Regions from separate parts of the Homo sapiens genome. Here region 2 is linked to region 1. Evidence: promoter capture Hi-C in 16 types of primary human blood cells and fetal thymus (Javierre and others, 2016). All regions are on one chromosome and are shown on one strand. Each heading gives the region's core, a stretch centred on a gene start or on the middle of the fragment in contact. The rest is flanking DNA. Distances are from core to core; before and after follow the strand shown. Region 1 holds the start of FSTL4-AS1 (FSTL4 antisense RNA 1). Region 2 holds the start of IL4 (interleukin 4).

The links. Contacts are between HindIII fragments. The CHiCAGO score rates a contact against its expected background, and 5 or more counts as called.
Region 2: the fragment with the promoter of IL4 here is called in contact with the fragment with the promoter of FSTL4-AS1 in region 1 in 5 of 17 cell types (neutrophils, naive B cells, M1 macrophages and 2 more); the score reaches 8.3 in neutrophils.

The regions. Positions count from the first base shown.
Region 1 is chr5:133,252,980-133,259,714 of GRCh38, forward strand. FSTL4-AS1 (FSTL4 antisense RNA 1) reads left to right here and starts at 3,466. Exons shown (of 2, transcript XR_007058939.1): 1 at 3,466-3,539. All of the region lies in intron 6 of FSTL4 (follistatin like 4), which reads right to left. The HindIII fragment of the contact is 11,288 bases long and covers 1-6,735 here.
Region 2 is chr5:132,670,910-132,677,644 of GRCh38, forward strand. It overlaps IL4 (interleukin 4), which reads left to right and starts at 3,080. Exons shown (of 4, transcript NM_000589.4): 1 at 3,080-3,276; 2 at 3,550-3,597. The coding sequence starts at 3,142. The HindIII fragment of the contact is 7,466 bases long and covers 1-3,803 here.

The DNA.
Region 1 (6,735 bases), core at 2,216-4,715:
TAGAACCATCGTAGTTCTGCTCCTGTCAGCTACATGAATATTAACCAAACAGCAAATATTTGGATCACTTAAAATTTAATTAAATGAATGTTTTATTGGATTTAATTTGTGTCAATATTCCCCAGCTCCTTTCACAGTTCTGAAGGGATTTATGGCTACTGAGCCCTCTCCTTCCACCCTCACTCCCCGTTATTTCCTGGTCAACAAGCCTCCCCCTGGCGGGTCCTCCTTCCTTGCTAAATGGAAAGAGTAGGACTAAGTGGCTTCCCAGGGTGACTTCCAGGGAGAGTAAAAAATGAGACAGCATCATGTGCTAGGCCCCGAGTGAGCAGGGCAGGCCACCTGGCCCCCAGGCCTGGCTCTGCTGCTGACAAGCTCAGTGGCCTTGGCAGCTCCCTTCCTGTCACTGGGCCTCAGTTTAGACATGGATACAATGAGGGCTTGGGCCCCCCTCGCTTTTGACTCGGAGCCGATTATTCTATGTTCATGCCCCTGGAGACCCCCTGAGTCTTGCAAGTGCTCCCACTGCATCTTTTCTTGCCCCTAAGTGTCATCTGCCCCTGTTCTTTGCCCACTTACCCATGATGGTAAAAGTGACGCCTCAAGTGGCAGCACCAATGGGTGCCAAGTCCCACTAAGGCTTCCCTCCCGATACCCTTTGAGGACTCCCCTGCCCCATCCCAGGCCCCCTATAGCCTCCTTCATGGTCACCCCTCCAGTTTGCCCCTGCTGCCTGCAACTGTCTTGTTGCCACTGGCAGAACAAGGTACATCTCAGCCCTGCTCAACAGCTGTCAATGGCTCCCTATTACCCACAGATCACCACATAGAATCCAGAAGAGTCCCCAGTCTTGACCCTGCTGTGTCTCCAACATTATTTACCACTGTGCCAGCTGGCTCCCCATGGCATTTGTGTCTTCAGACCTCAGCGTGGGCCTGCTTGGCACCTGCTGCTCATCCATTCTGAGCTCCTCACACTATTGGCCCCTACCTCCAAGATGACCTCATGGGATGTTTCTGGGACCCTGAAGTTTTAATGTAAAGAAACACTTGGACAGATATTAGGTGAAGAAGATTGAAAGAGACTGTCCTGGTGAATTTATCAGAACTTTTTCAGGCTTAGTAACAGAAACACTCAGAAATGCTCAACTATTAATAGCTTAGGGGGAAAAAGGTGGTTTAGTTCCCACAATGGGAAATCTAAGGGAGGTGGAAGAGGTTGCAGGCATCCAGGGCCTTCGACAGTGGCATTCTCTACTTGGTTGCAAGATGTCCATTGGTGGCCCCACACTCACATTGTTTCTGTATGTGGGATCCCAGAGGAAGGGAACAAATCTTGCCTGAGAGCCCTGGAAAAAGCATGGGGGAGCTCTGATTGGCCACATACAGCTCCTGTGTTCTTCCCTGAAGCAAACACTGAGGGCAAGAGGACTGAGTATTGTGCAGGTGTGGGACTGATTGGCCCATCAGGCCTGGGCCGTGTGGCCACCTCCAGGGGCAGGGACTAGGTGTTTGGGCTGGGGTAAAATGGCTAATGGAAAGGGTATATTGGGCAGATTGACACCCTATGACCATCATAGGGATGCAGAGAGGGCCCCCTCCCTTCCCCCTATCTGCATCACAACTGCATCGGGAAGCCTGGGCATCGTGCGTGATCAGGGCAGATAGCCGCAGTCATACAGTGAAGACGGTAAGAATCGTCAGAACTGAAACCTGATTTAGGCTACTACAGTCTTGCCTCCACCCTGCGCCTTCTCTGGAGAGTGATGGGGGCAGCTTTCACAGGGAGGAGATGTGGCCCAACTAAGCAAACCCCATCATCCTGTTGAGCCTCACATCCTGATGGCGAGGGTCTGGAATTTGTGGAGATGGCCTTCTGTGTTCAGTGATCACACATCTCCTGAACCTCACCTGCGCTGGCCACATCTGCAGGGCTGTGGACCAGTTAAGCCCCAGGCCTGGTCTCTGCTCTGGTGGGGAGCCAGGCCACATGAGAGGAAGATGAAGATGCCACATGCAGCCCTCTAGGGGGCAACGAGTGGTCCTTCTGGCTCCTGGCTGTGGCTCCAATGCCCCTGTGTTGACTGACCATCTGTGGGCTCATTAGCCACTATGTGGGAAGGTTTCCAAGGTCCCTGGACGACCAAACGTGATATGCCCAGCACTCAGAGTGTGATCAGGGGTCAGTGAGAGAGGGCTCAGCCAGACGCTGTGTCTGGGGTGAGAATGTGTCTACACACTGAGGCTGGTGTCTTTGGAAAGAGAGGGCTGGGTTGGGGGTCAGAGCAGCCCATCAGGGAGCTTGTCTGGCACTACTGGGCAGAAGTCTGTGCCCACAGAGGGACTGACGCCCTGCTATGAGAACTGACATTGGAGAGCTGCTCTGCAAGTAGGGAATCTGAGGAGGGCAAGGGAGTTGGGGGGTTCTCAAAGCTCAGGGCTTCCCATGATATCCCCCTGGGATGAAAACAAATGGGTCACACTGCAGTGATGGCCCAAGTCAGTGTGGGTTGGTTGGCACAAGACAGAGCTTCCTGGACCACTAGCTAGGCTGCGTGTCCCACAGTGGGATTCTGGGCAGGGCTGTCTGGCACTCTGGTGCCTAGCACAAGGCATGGCACACAGTAGGTGGGCTCAAGGCCATGACCTATCTCTCTAGGCCCTTCAAACCAGTGCAGTAGCATACCCTTGGTTTTCCAGACATGAGATGCCACAAACACCCGTCCTCACCTTTCTCCCTGAGTCTTGGAGCTTGGAGAGAAGAGGCAGTCACAGGGAATTAATGGGCTTACCATAAGCAGGCTAACAAACACCCTTCCTGAAAGCAGGAGGCCATAACATTTCAGTTGTTGGAGAACTGGGTTTTAGTTCCTATTACAGGTTTCCCTTAATCTCAGGCGCTATTTCTCACACTGACTTGAACTCGATAAGACACTCATAAACCCATCAGCACCCTCTCAAACAGGATTCTGGTGCTTTGTAGTGATAGAAATTAAATTTCTCAAATTCTTGTCAAGCTGGTGTTAGTTTTCTTATGTCAGAAACACACTAATGGAACACATTCCTACTTGGATATTTGCCATTTTTCAAATGATGCCATTGGTGAAAAAAACCCTGTCAAAAGCTCAGTAACCTGCCTGCACATCAATATTTTTGACTGAGCCTCGGAGGGCAAACTCAGGCTCAGGGGCCTGCTTGGGAATGAGGGCAATTTGGAGAGAGCACAGGCCAGGCGCTTAGACACATCTCTCTAACTGCGGCCTCTTCCCACATTATTCTCCTTCTAAATTAATGTGCTTTCCTGAAACAAACCCCTCAGGTGACCTAGGTGCCACCAAAGAAGCTGGGGCATTGGAGTGACAAAGTCTATTGATCTGGTCCCATCCCTGTGACCAGAGTCACACTGTGAAGTTGGCGAGTAGGGGAGGAGCCAAGGGGGAGTGCGCATGCCCAGTGTCTCCTGAACAAACAGGGCAACATCTCCCGGACCTTGTGACTTTGGCTGGTGTTTACAGAGTGAAGCTGCTTTGGCGTATCCTGGTGAGCCGGGCAAGGCGGGTGGGAGGGATGGTGTGCTTTTTGTCTCCTCTGTTCCGTCTACCAGAGATTGTCACTCTGGGATCCTTTCAAATAACTGCTGAATGTTTGTGGATGGGAGGCTGGGGACAGGATGTCTTAAAGCCTTTCATCTTGACATTCCTGTTTAGAGCACCAGGGTGCATCCAGCCTGCACAGGTGGCTCTGTATTAGCCAGACTTGCTCCAAAGCCACACAAGAGAGCACTTGCATCTGTCCCAAATCTCCTGTTTCCTTACGTGTAACCAGATTCAATCTTCCTGCCATTGTCATTCCCTCTTGCTTGCTTCATTTTGGGGATGGCAATAAAATTACTAGTTAATTACCTGCGGGTCAGTGGGTAATTTACTTTTTCAACTGGCCTATGTTGCTTGATGTTGCTTCAACTTTTATTACAGTTTAGTTATCAAGTTCTGCTCTCTGGTGTGAACAAACACCTTTGTAAGCTGCATAAAGGCAGAGACTATATCTGTTTTATTTATGTTGTATCCCCAGCACCTAATACAATGCCTACCACGCAGAAGGGACTTAATAAGCAGTTTTAAGCAAGTGAACTATTAGGCTAGTGCTCAGTCAACAATTATTTATGGAGCTGGTACCAGGAGCCAGGATACAGTGGGAATATACTGGCAAGAAAAACAGGCCCAGTGCTTGCTAACCTGGAGCTCATGGCTTAGCAGAGAAGACAAGTGTTAAGTGGGGAGGGAGAGCAGAGGCCTGAACCTGTCTACAGACCCCAGGTTAAGGGCCCGTGACTCCTGTAAAGCCTGGTTGCCCTCTTTCTTGGTAGAGCCCTCCCTGTGTGCCTGGCAGACCTGTGTCCTGCTATCGAGACATCCTAGTCTGATGTAGTATCCTCCTTGTTTGCAGGAGGGGCCGGCCTGTGCAGGGGCAGGGTTACCTGGGCATCCCTCTAGGCTCTGGGGTTCCATTTAGCCTCCTCTGGCCAATACACCTTTTTAGTTTTGAGAAAACTAAACCTCAATGTGACTGCTGTGTGCAGACGAACAGGAAGTTAGAGCAGAACTCAGTGCCCAGGGGCTGTGAGATCACCATTCTGGGTATCATGGGGTGCCACAGTGTGGCAGGCAGGAGAGGCATCCATCAGAAGGAGCAAAGGGTCCTTGCTGAGGTGGAGAGCACAGGGCCTCCTGGTCAGCAGGAGCATGGCTGTCACAGTGCTGCATACCAGCTCTTCCACCTCCGCTGGTTCCTGTGTGTGGGGTAGCCTTGGTCAGCTTGGCCACTCTATGGGTCTCTCCCACCCTACTGAGTCTACACCCAAAGATGATGGGCATACCTCTGCTCAAGATATTTGCAAAAGGAGAGTATCCTAACTGCCTATTACTTTGGTGTCTTAAGGGGGAAAAGAATGTATTACCTTATGTAATTATACAGAGCTACTCAGAATTTACAAAAATTCATACAGATCTCTAAGGTTGGATCCAGAATCTCCTGAGCAAGTCAGTGGAGAAGAGCAAACAGTTTTTACCTAACTAGCAAGAGGGGGCCATGCTGTGTGTTTCCAAATGCCAGCTCATCTTCCAATTCCTGTGCACTCATTATGACTATTTCGTGGCCTCTCTTGGAGCCAGAATGGGGCCATGTCATTGGGTTTGACATGGTAGGTGATAGGAGGTGACCAAGCCTGGCCACACAACCTCTGTGTCATTGTCTTGGTTAGTTTTATGTGTTACCTTGACTGGGCCACAAGGCACCCAGATATTTGTTCGAGCATTATCCTGGGTGTGTCTGTGAGGGTGTTTCTGGATGAGATTGACATTTGAATCAGTAGACTGAGTAGAGAAGATTGCCCTCCCCAATGAGGGCAGGCCTCATCCAATTCGTTGAAGACCTAGATAGAAAAAATGAGCCTGGGTAAGAGGGAAACCCTCCTGTCTCACTGCTGAGCTGTGACATTGGTCTTTTTCCTGCTTTCAGACTGAAACTGAAACACTGGCTTCAACAGAAGCCAATGTTTTATTGGTTCCGTAGAAGACATATACATCTTCTGTTGGTTTTATTTTTCTGGAGGATAACACAGTCATCATCCATGCTCTCCTCTCCTCGTCTTTGGAGGTCATGCATTTGATGAGAGTGAAGAACATGGTCTAGTCACTGTTTAGGGAGAGCTGCCTGACCCCATCGGACTTGATGAGGATGGGAAACCAGCCTTTACTATACTACACTACTGAGATTTTGGGATTTCTATAGCAGCTGGTGTTAATTACATAACACACCCCCTCAGAAGGGAAAGAAATACCAGTTAACGTATTTCCACTGAAGAAGTCATAAGGAAATGGGAAACAGTCTTTTGACAGGCCAAGTCATCCAGGTCAGGAACCTTCTGAGAATGTTCTAACAAGAGTAGGTCCAACTTTGGCTCCAATCCCCAGAATACCTTCTGTACAGGGAGCTCACTCCTTCACTCCACATCTGTATCTGTTGCTACAGCGTCCAAACTGCTGGACTGAGGGAGCAAGGGCTGGGGGTGGGGGGTGTCTCAGAATAGGCTGGCAGAGAACATGCAAACAAATTACACAGTACAATAAGCATTACGGATAGAAAGAACAAGATGAGAGAATACCAAGAGAGTAGCAGGGGAGGGCTATTAAGGTGTGTGTGTGGGGGGTGGGTGCTGGTGTGGCGGAAAGCCTCTTTGAGTAGAGAATATTTAAGTGAAGATCTTTAAAATGAGAAGAAGCCAGCCAGGCCAAGAATGGGAGCAAGGACATTCTAGTTAGAGAAAACAGCCCATACAAAGGTCTTGAGGCAGGGTGGGGGCTTGGAGTGCTCTGGGAGCTGAAATAGACCAGTGCAGCTGAAGCACATGGCACAAGGCAAGGGCATGTGGCACAGATGCGGTCAGAGGCAGGAAATAGCTAGTTAGAGCAGGCAGAGCAAGGTAAGGACTGATGGCTGTAATTTAAGGAGATGAAAAGTGATCAGAAGGATTTTTTTTTCTTTTTTTTTTTTTTTTTTGAGGAGGAGTCTCGCTCTGTCACCCAGGCTGGAGTGCGCGGCACGATCTTGGCTCATGATCAGAAGGATTTTAAGTCAATCAGGGATGTGACATGATTTGCATGCTAAAGGGTCACTCCGGCTGTTGTGCAAATAACGGACTGGTGGGAGAGAGGGAAAAAATGCAGGGGGACCATTT
Region 2 (6,735 bases), core at 1,830-4,329, 580 kb before region 1:
TGAATGTGCAGCTGGCGTCTGAAGCAAGGGCAGTGTTGTGGGGGACCATACCCCTCACCTGTGAGGTGTGGCTCATCTCAGGTGGTTTGGCATCTGAAGCCACTGCATTTAGTTTGGTAACCTTGCTGCCCAGTCCCAATGGAAGGATCCTAAATATGGTCTAAGGACCTCCTGATACAATTATCCAGATTCTCTCCTTCACAGAACTTGAGGCACTGCGATAAGATCCAAAACTATATATAGACAGTGGAATACTATACAGCCTTAAAAAAGAAGGAAACGCTGTCATTCACCACAACATGGATGAACCTGGAGGACATTATGCTAAGTGAAAAAATCCAGGCACAGACAGACAAATACCACATGATCTCACGCATATGTGAAATATAAAAAAGCCAAACTCAGGGAGGCAGAGAGTAGGATGATGGTCACCAGGGGCTGGGAGGGTGGTGATCAGGAAGATGTTGGTCAAAGGATATAAAATTTCAACTGGGAGGAGTTAAGTTAAAGAGAGCCATTGTACGACATGGTGACAACAGTTGATATCAATGTCTTGTATACTTAAAAATCATGAAGACAGGCCAGGCGCAGTGGCTCACACCTGTAATCCCAGCACTTTGCAGGGGCTGAGGTGGGTAGATCACCTGAGGTCAGGAGTTCGAGACCAGCCTGGCCAACATGGTAAAACCCTGTCTCTATTAAAAATACAAAAATTAGCTGGGCGTGGTGGCAGGCACCTGTAATCCCAGCTACTCGGGAGGCTGAGGCAGGAGAATTGCTTGAGCTCAGGAGGCAGAGGTTGCAGTGAGCTGAGACTGCGCCATTGCACTCCAGTCTGGGCAACAGAGCAAGACTCTATCTCAAAATAAATAAATAAATCACAGAGTAGATTTTAAATGTTCTTACCAAAAATAAATATGTGAAGTATTGTATAAGTAGCTTGATGTAGCAATTCCATAACATGCACATTTCAAAACATTATATCATACAGCACAAATATGTGCAATACTTATTTGTCAATTTAATAATAATAATAATAAGGGAAGAAAAGATCCAAAACAGAGGCAAAACCTTGGCCGGGCATGGTGGTTCACGCCTATAATCCCAGCACTTTGGGAGGCTGAGGTGGGTGGATCATTTTGAGGCCAGGAGTTCGACACCAGCCTAGCCAACATGGTGAAACCCCATCTCTACTAAAAAAAAAAAAAAAATACAGAAATTAGCCAGGCGTGGTGGCATGTGCCTGTAATCCCAGCTACTCGGGAAGCTGAGGCTGGAGAATGCCTTGAGCCCAGGAGATCAAGGCTACAGTAAGCTATGATCACCACTGCACTCCAGCCTGGGTGACAGAGTATGGGGGCAGGGGGTGGTGAGGGGGGGGCGGGGAAGTGGAACAGAGGCAAAACCTTAGCAACACACATTTTTAGATGATCTTCCAGAATAAATTCATAGGGAGGCCCAGGCACAGTGGCTCACGCCTGTAATCCCAGCACTTTGGGAGGCCGAGGCAGGCGGATCACGAGGTCAGGAGATGGAGACCATCCTGGCTAACACGGTGAAACCCCGTCTCTACTAAAAATACAAAAAATTAGCCGGGCGTGGTGGCAGGTGCCTGTAGTCCCAGCTACTCGGGGAGGCTGAGGCAGGAGAACGGCATGAACCCAGGAGGCGGAGCTTGCAGTGAACTAAGATCACGCCACTGCACTCCAGCCTGGGTGACAGAGCAAGATTCCATCTCAAAAAAAAAAAAAAAAAAAAGAAATTCATAGGGAAAAGAAGGTCAGAGACCAAGGGAAGGGAAGGTTCTGGGAGAAAAGCAGGGGGCAGGCAGGGCCCAAGAATCCTGCTGCCCATGAGCCCTTACTGGGAGGTGGGGTGGCCTTGCACAGGGCCCAGGCACCTGAGTGAGTGGTGGGGTCCTTACGTTCACTGCTGGGGTGAGGCAATGAGCACCTTATTGTGTCCACATGAATTCAATAAAAAACAAGCAGGGCGGGTGGTGGGGCACTGACTAGGAGGGCTGATTTGTAAGTTGGTAAGACTGTAGCTCTTTTTCCTAATTAGCTGAGGATGTGTTTAGGTTCCATTCAAAAAGTGGGCATTCCTGGCCAGGCATGGTGGCTCACACCTGTAATCTCAGAGCTTTGGGAGACTGAGGTAGGAGGATCACTTGAGCCCAGGAATTTGAGATGAGCCTAGGCAACATAGTGAGACTCTTATCTCTATCAAAAAATAAAAATAAAAATGAGCCAGGCATGGTGCGGTGGCACGCACCTACTGCTAGGGGGGCTGAGGTGGGAGGATCACTTGAGCCTGGGAGGTTGAGGCTGCAGTGATCCCTGATCACAACATTGCATTTCAGCCTGGGTGACAGAGTGAGACCCTGTCTCAGAAAAAAAAAAAAAAAAGTCATTCCTGAAACCTCAGAATAGACCTACCTTGCCAAGGGCTTCCTTATGGGTAAGGACCTTATGGACCTGCTGGGACCCAAACTAGGCCTCACCTGATACGACCTGTCCTTCTCAAAACACCTAAACTTGGGAGAACATTGTCCCCCAGTGCTGGGGTAGGAGAGTCTGCCTGTTATTCTGCCTCTATGCAGAGAAGGAGCCCCAGATCAGCTTTTCCATGACAGGACAGTTTCCAAGATGCCACCTGTACTTGGAAGAAGCCAGGTTAAAATACTTTTCAAGTAAAACTTTCTTGATATTACTCTATCTTTCCCCAGGAGGACTGCATTACAACAAATTCGGACACCTGTGGCCTCTCCCTTCTATGCAAAGCAAAAAGCCAGCAGCAGCCCCAAGCTGATAAGATTAATCTAAAGAGCAAATTATGGTGTAATTTCCTATGCTGAAACTTTGTAGTTAATTTTTTAAAAAGGTTTCATTTTCCTATTGGTCTGATTTCACAGGAACATTTTACCTGTTTGTGAGGCATTTTTTCTCCTGGAAGAGAGGTGCTGATTGGCCCCAAGTGACTGACAATCTGGTGTAACGAAAATTTCCAATGTAAACTCATTTTCCCTCGGTTTCAGCAATTTTAAATCTATATATAGAGATATCTTTGTCAGCATTGCATCGTTAGCTTCTCCTGATAAACTAATTGCCTCACATTGTCACTGCAAATCGACACCTATTAATGGGTCTCACCTCCCAACTGCTTCCCCCTCTGTTCTTCCTGCTAGCATGTGCCGGCAACTTTGTCCACGGACACAAGTGCGATATCACCTTACAGGAGATCATCAAAACTTTGAACAGCCTCACAGAGCAGAAGGTGAGTACCTATCTGGCACCATCTCTCCAGATGTTCTGGTGATGCTCTCAGTATTTCTAGGCATGAAAACGTTAACAGCTGCTAGAGAAGTTGGAACTGGTGGTTGGTGGCAGTCCAGGGCACACAGCGAGGCTTCTCCCCTGCCACTCTTTTTTCTGAGGGTTTGTAGGAAGTTTCCTCAGTTGGAGGGAGTGAGAGCTGCTCATCAAGGACTTCTCTGTCCGGTTGGAGGTTAACTCTGTCTCTTGCTCTCTCATTTCTGCCTGGACCAAGACTCTGTGCACCGAGTTGACCGTAACAGACATCTTTGCTGCCTCCAAGGTAAGAAGCCGTCCCACGGTCTGTTTTAGCAAATGGGGAGATCCATCCCCAAATGTCTGAACAAGAAACTTGTCTAATGGAAAACGAGCGGGCCCAAATTAACTCTAAGGTGTTAGATGTTTTCAAAGAACGAGAAGTCTGATCTTTACTCTTAAGCATGTTTTGGTCTTTCTGGTTTCACTTGATTTAGAAGACATGTAATAGAAAGCTTACATGCTGTAGTCCTGACTCAGATCCTGGTCAAAGAAAAGCCCTCTTGGGTTTTACTTAGCTTTGGCATAGTGCCTGGAACGTAGGAGGCACTCAATAAATGCCTGTTGAATGAGAGAATTTTTCTGGCCCATACATTTCTGAAAAACCAAATACTCTCACAGAAACAGATATTGAGATGACAGGTTGAGGGAGCTTTCATTTTGTCTAAGAGACTTCCTATGGCAACAGAAAAGGTATCGCCAGAGCCCCTCCTCTTCCACAGCCTGGCCACCTAACAGCCCTCTGGGTTCCGGGGCTGGCCGTCCAGAGCTCCTCAGCTTGCTCTGGCCGGCCGAACTCCCCTCCAGCTCGGTCTGGAACCATCCTGCTGGGCAGCGTCCAGCACATCCCTGCTTCGGGCTGCCTGGGCACCTCGCCTCTCTGCCTCCTGTGCTGCCTCACCCCCACCCCTCTATCTGTAGTGGGAGGAGATAGATTTGACAGCTGATAGTGCATTTTCTCTGACAAACACATGACTACAGCCGTATCAATAGTTTTGTGCATTTCAGTTCCTGTTTTCATGGAAACACACGGCTGAGAATGAAAGCCCCAAAGCCTCAATTTCACAGTGGTCTCCTAACTACCTGCTTTCCATGCAAACTAGGGAGATGATATGGCCAGGAGTGAAGCCCTGTGTGTTGGGCAGGGTCACACTCCAGCACCCAGACCATAGAACAGGGCCCATCCTGCTTCATGAGGGAAACTGCTCTTCGGGCCTTTAGCTGGACTATCTCATTTCATTAGTTATCCCGGGAGTCCGATACAGGATGAGATTCTGAAGGGCAAATACACACTTTTTTTTTTTTTTGAGATAGGGTCTTGTTCTGTCACCCAGGCTGGAGTGCAGTGGTGCGATTTCAGCTCATAGCAGCCTCCACCTCCCAGGCTCAAGCTATCTTCCTACCTCAGCCTCCCAAGTAGCCGGGACGACAGGTGTGCACCACCACGCCTGGCTAATTTTTGTATTTTTTTGTAGAGATGGAGTCTTGCCATTTTGCCCAGGCTTGTCTCGAACTTCTGGGCTCAAGCAATCCGTCCACCTCGGCCTCTCAAAGTGCTGGGATTAGCCACTGCACCTGGGCAACAGTTTATGTGTGTGTGTGTGTGTGTGTGTGTGTGTATATATGTGTGTGTGTATATATATGTGTGTATGTATATATGTGTATGTATATGTGTGTGTGTGTGTGTGTGTGTGTGTATAAAATCTCCAAGTCCATCCAACCGAGATGGCTCCTACTAGAAGCCAAGAGTCCACCGGGTTGAGCACTGGGTCTCTGGAGGCCTGTGGCACTGCTGAGAAGGCTCTAACAAAGCCAAGGGAAGGGCCACCTCACTAGAAGCCAGGCCTGGAGGAAGGGTGAGGGCTGAGGGCCTGGAGGTAAGACTGCCTGTGGTTTTAGACCCAGCTCTGCCACTGACTAGCTGTGTGGCTGGCCTTCAGCACATCTTCACACCTCTCTGCACCTCAGTTTCCACATGTGAAGATATGAAAGTGATTCTGAAGGTGATTGCAAGGTTGATTGGAATCCAGCTCTTGAGTTAGTGCAAAGTGTTATTGTGAGATGATATAACCACGATTAAAAGCAAGAACAGGTGCAGAGAAGCGATGATTCTAAGAAGGAGGGGACCGGGTTGGAAAGGATCAAACCATCCAGGATGCCGAGTCTGGGGCAATCCATCTGGGCTGTTTCTGGAAGACCCCCGGGTGCAGGCCAGGACACTGCTGCCCTCCCGTCCTTAACTCCCCTCTTCACTCAGTCCTCACTCACCTCCCTCTCACACACACAAACATCTCCTAGAATAATCCCCACTGCCTGCCTTCACTCTTACCCGTCTCATTTGCCTCCCCTGAACTTCATCCTCCTGGAGTTCACGATCTCACTCTTCACTCTTTTCTTCCCCTCGAAGATTCAGCACTGCTTACTTACATGTTAAGATATTTCAGAACAGTGAAATGTTGCTATTTTCAAAAACCTACAAAGGTGGTATGCAGAGGAAAAGGTACTTCTTTGTGTTCCCAAAGAAAACATCTTTCCAAAATCCAGCCTATTGATTTTATTTCTTCGGGGGAACAAGAATTTTAGTATCTCTAAGTTGGGTAGCATTCTACTCTTGGCAGTTGCTGGAAAGAAGGCACTGGTCTAGGTCCTGGGCTTCACAGGTAACACCTGTCAGGGTGTCTATGAAGTCAAGGCTGTCTGAGGAACAGCAAAGTGGGAAGAAGCAAGCTGGCTGGCTGATGAAGGGTTTCTTGGGTGGACAAGTAGTTGGAGCTATTTCCTATTTACCAAAGAGAGCTAAAGTTCATAATTCTACAGAGAGTTCCATAATGAACCTCAAATACCTCTGTTTTTTGAAGGAGTTTCTCATATACAGCACTAGCTGACTATCCTGGGCAGGATGGGAGATAATGAATGCAGTGCCAATCGGGCTGGATTTATATGGTCCTCAGTGAGGCTGGTCAAGAACCGAGTTAGAACTCTCACAGAGTCACTGCCACAGAAGAAATCTCCCAAGTGGCTGTTTCCTGACATTCCCGGGAGGGACAGGCCTCCTTCTGAGTCACTCCCTAAGCAGTTCTGAACTGTGAGGTCAGCCAGGCTGTCCAAGTGCACTCCCTGAGCCACTGGCAGACACACTCAGCAGCCAGAGCTAGACAGGCAGGTGGTAGGAGTCCAGGGCCACGGCAGGGATGGAGTGTCGCCCCCTCGCTGCGATACCAGAGCAACTAAAACGTTAAGGCCTTGCACTAAAGCTGCCCTTAGGATGCATTCTTTTAAAGTTTTTCCATTTAATGCAGACTCTTTTCAATTCTTATTTTATCCTTGTTTCCTTTAGAAAGTCCTTTCAAAAATATCTTTAGAGGGTTTTTTCCTATACTATGTG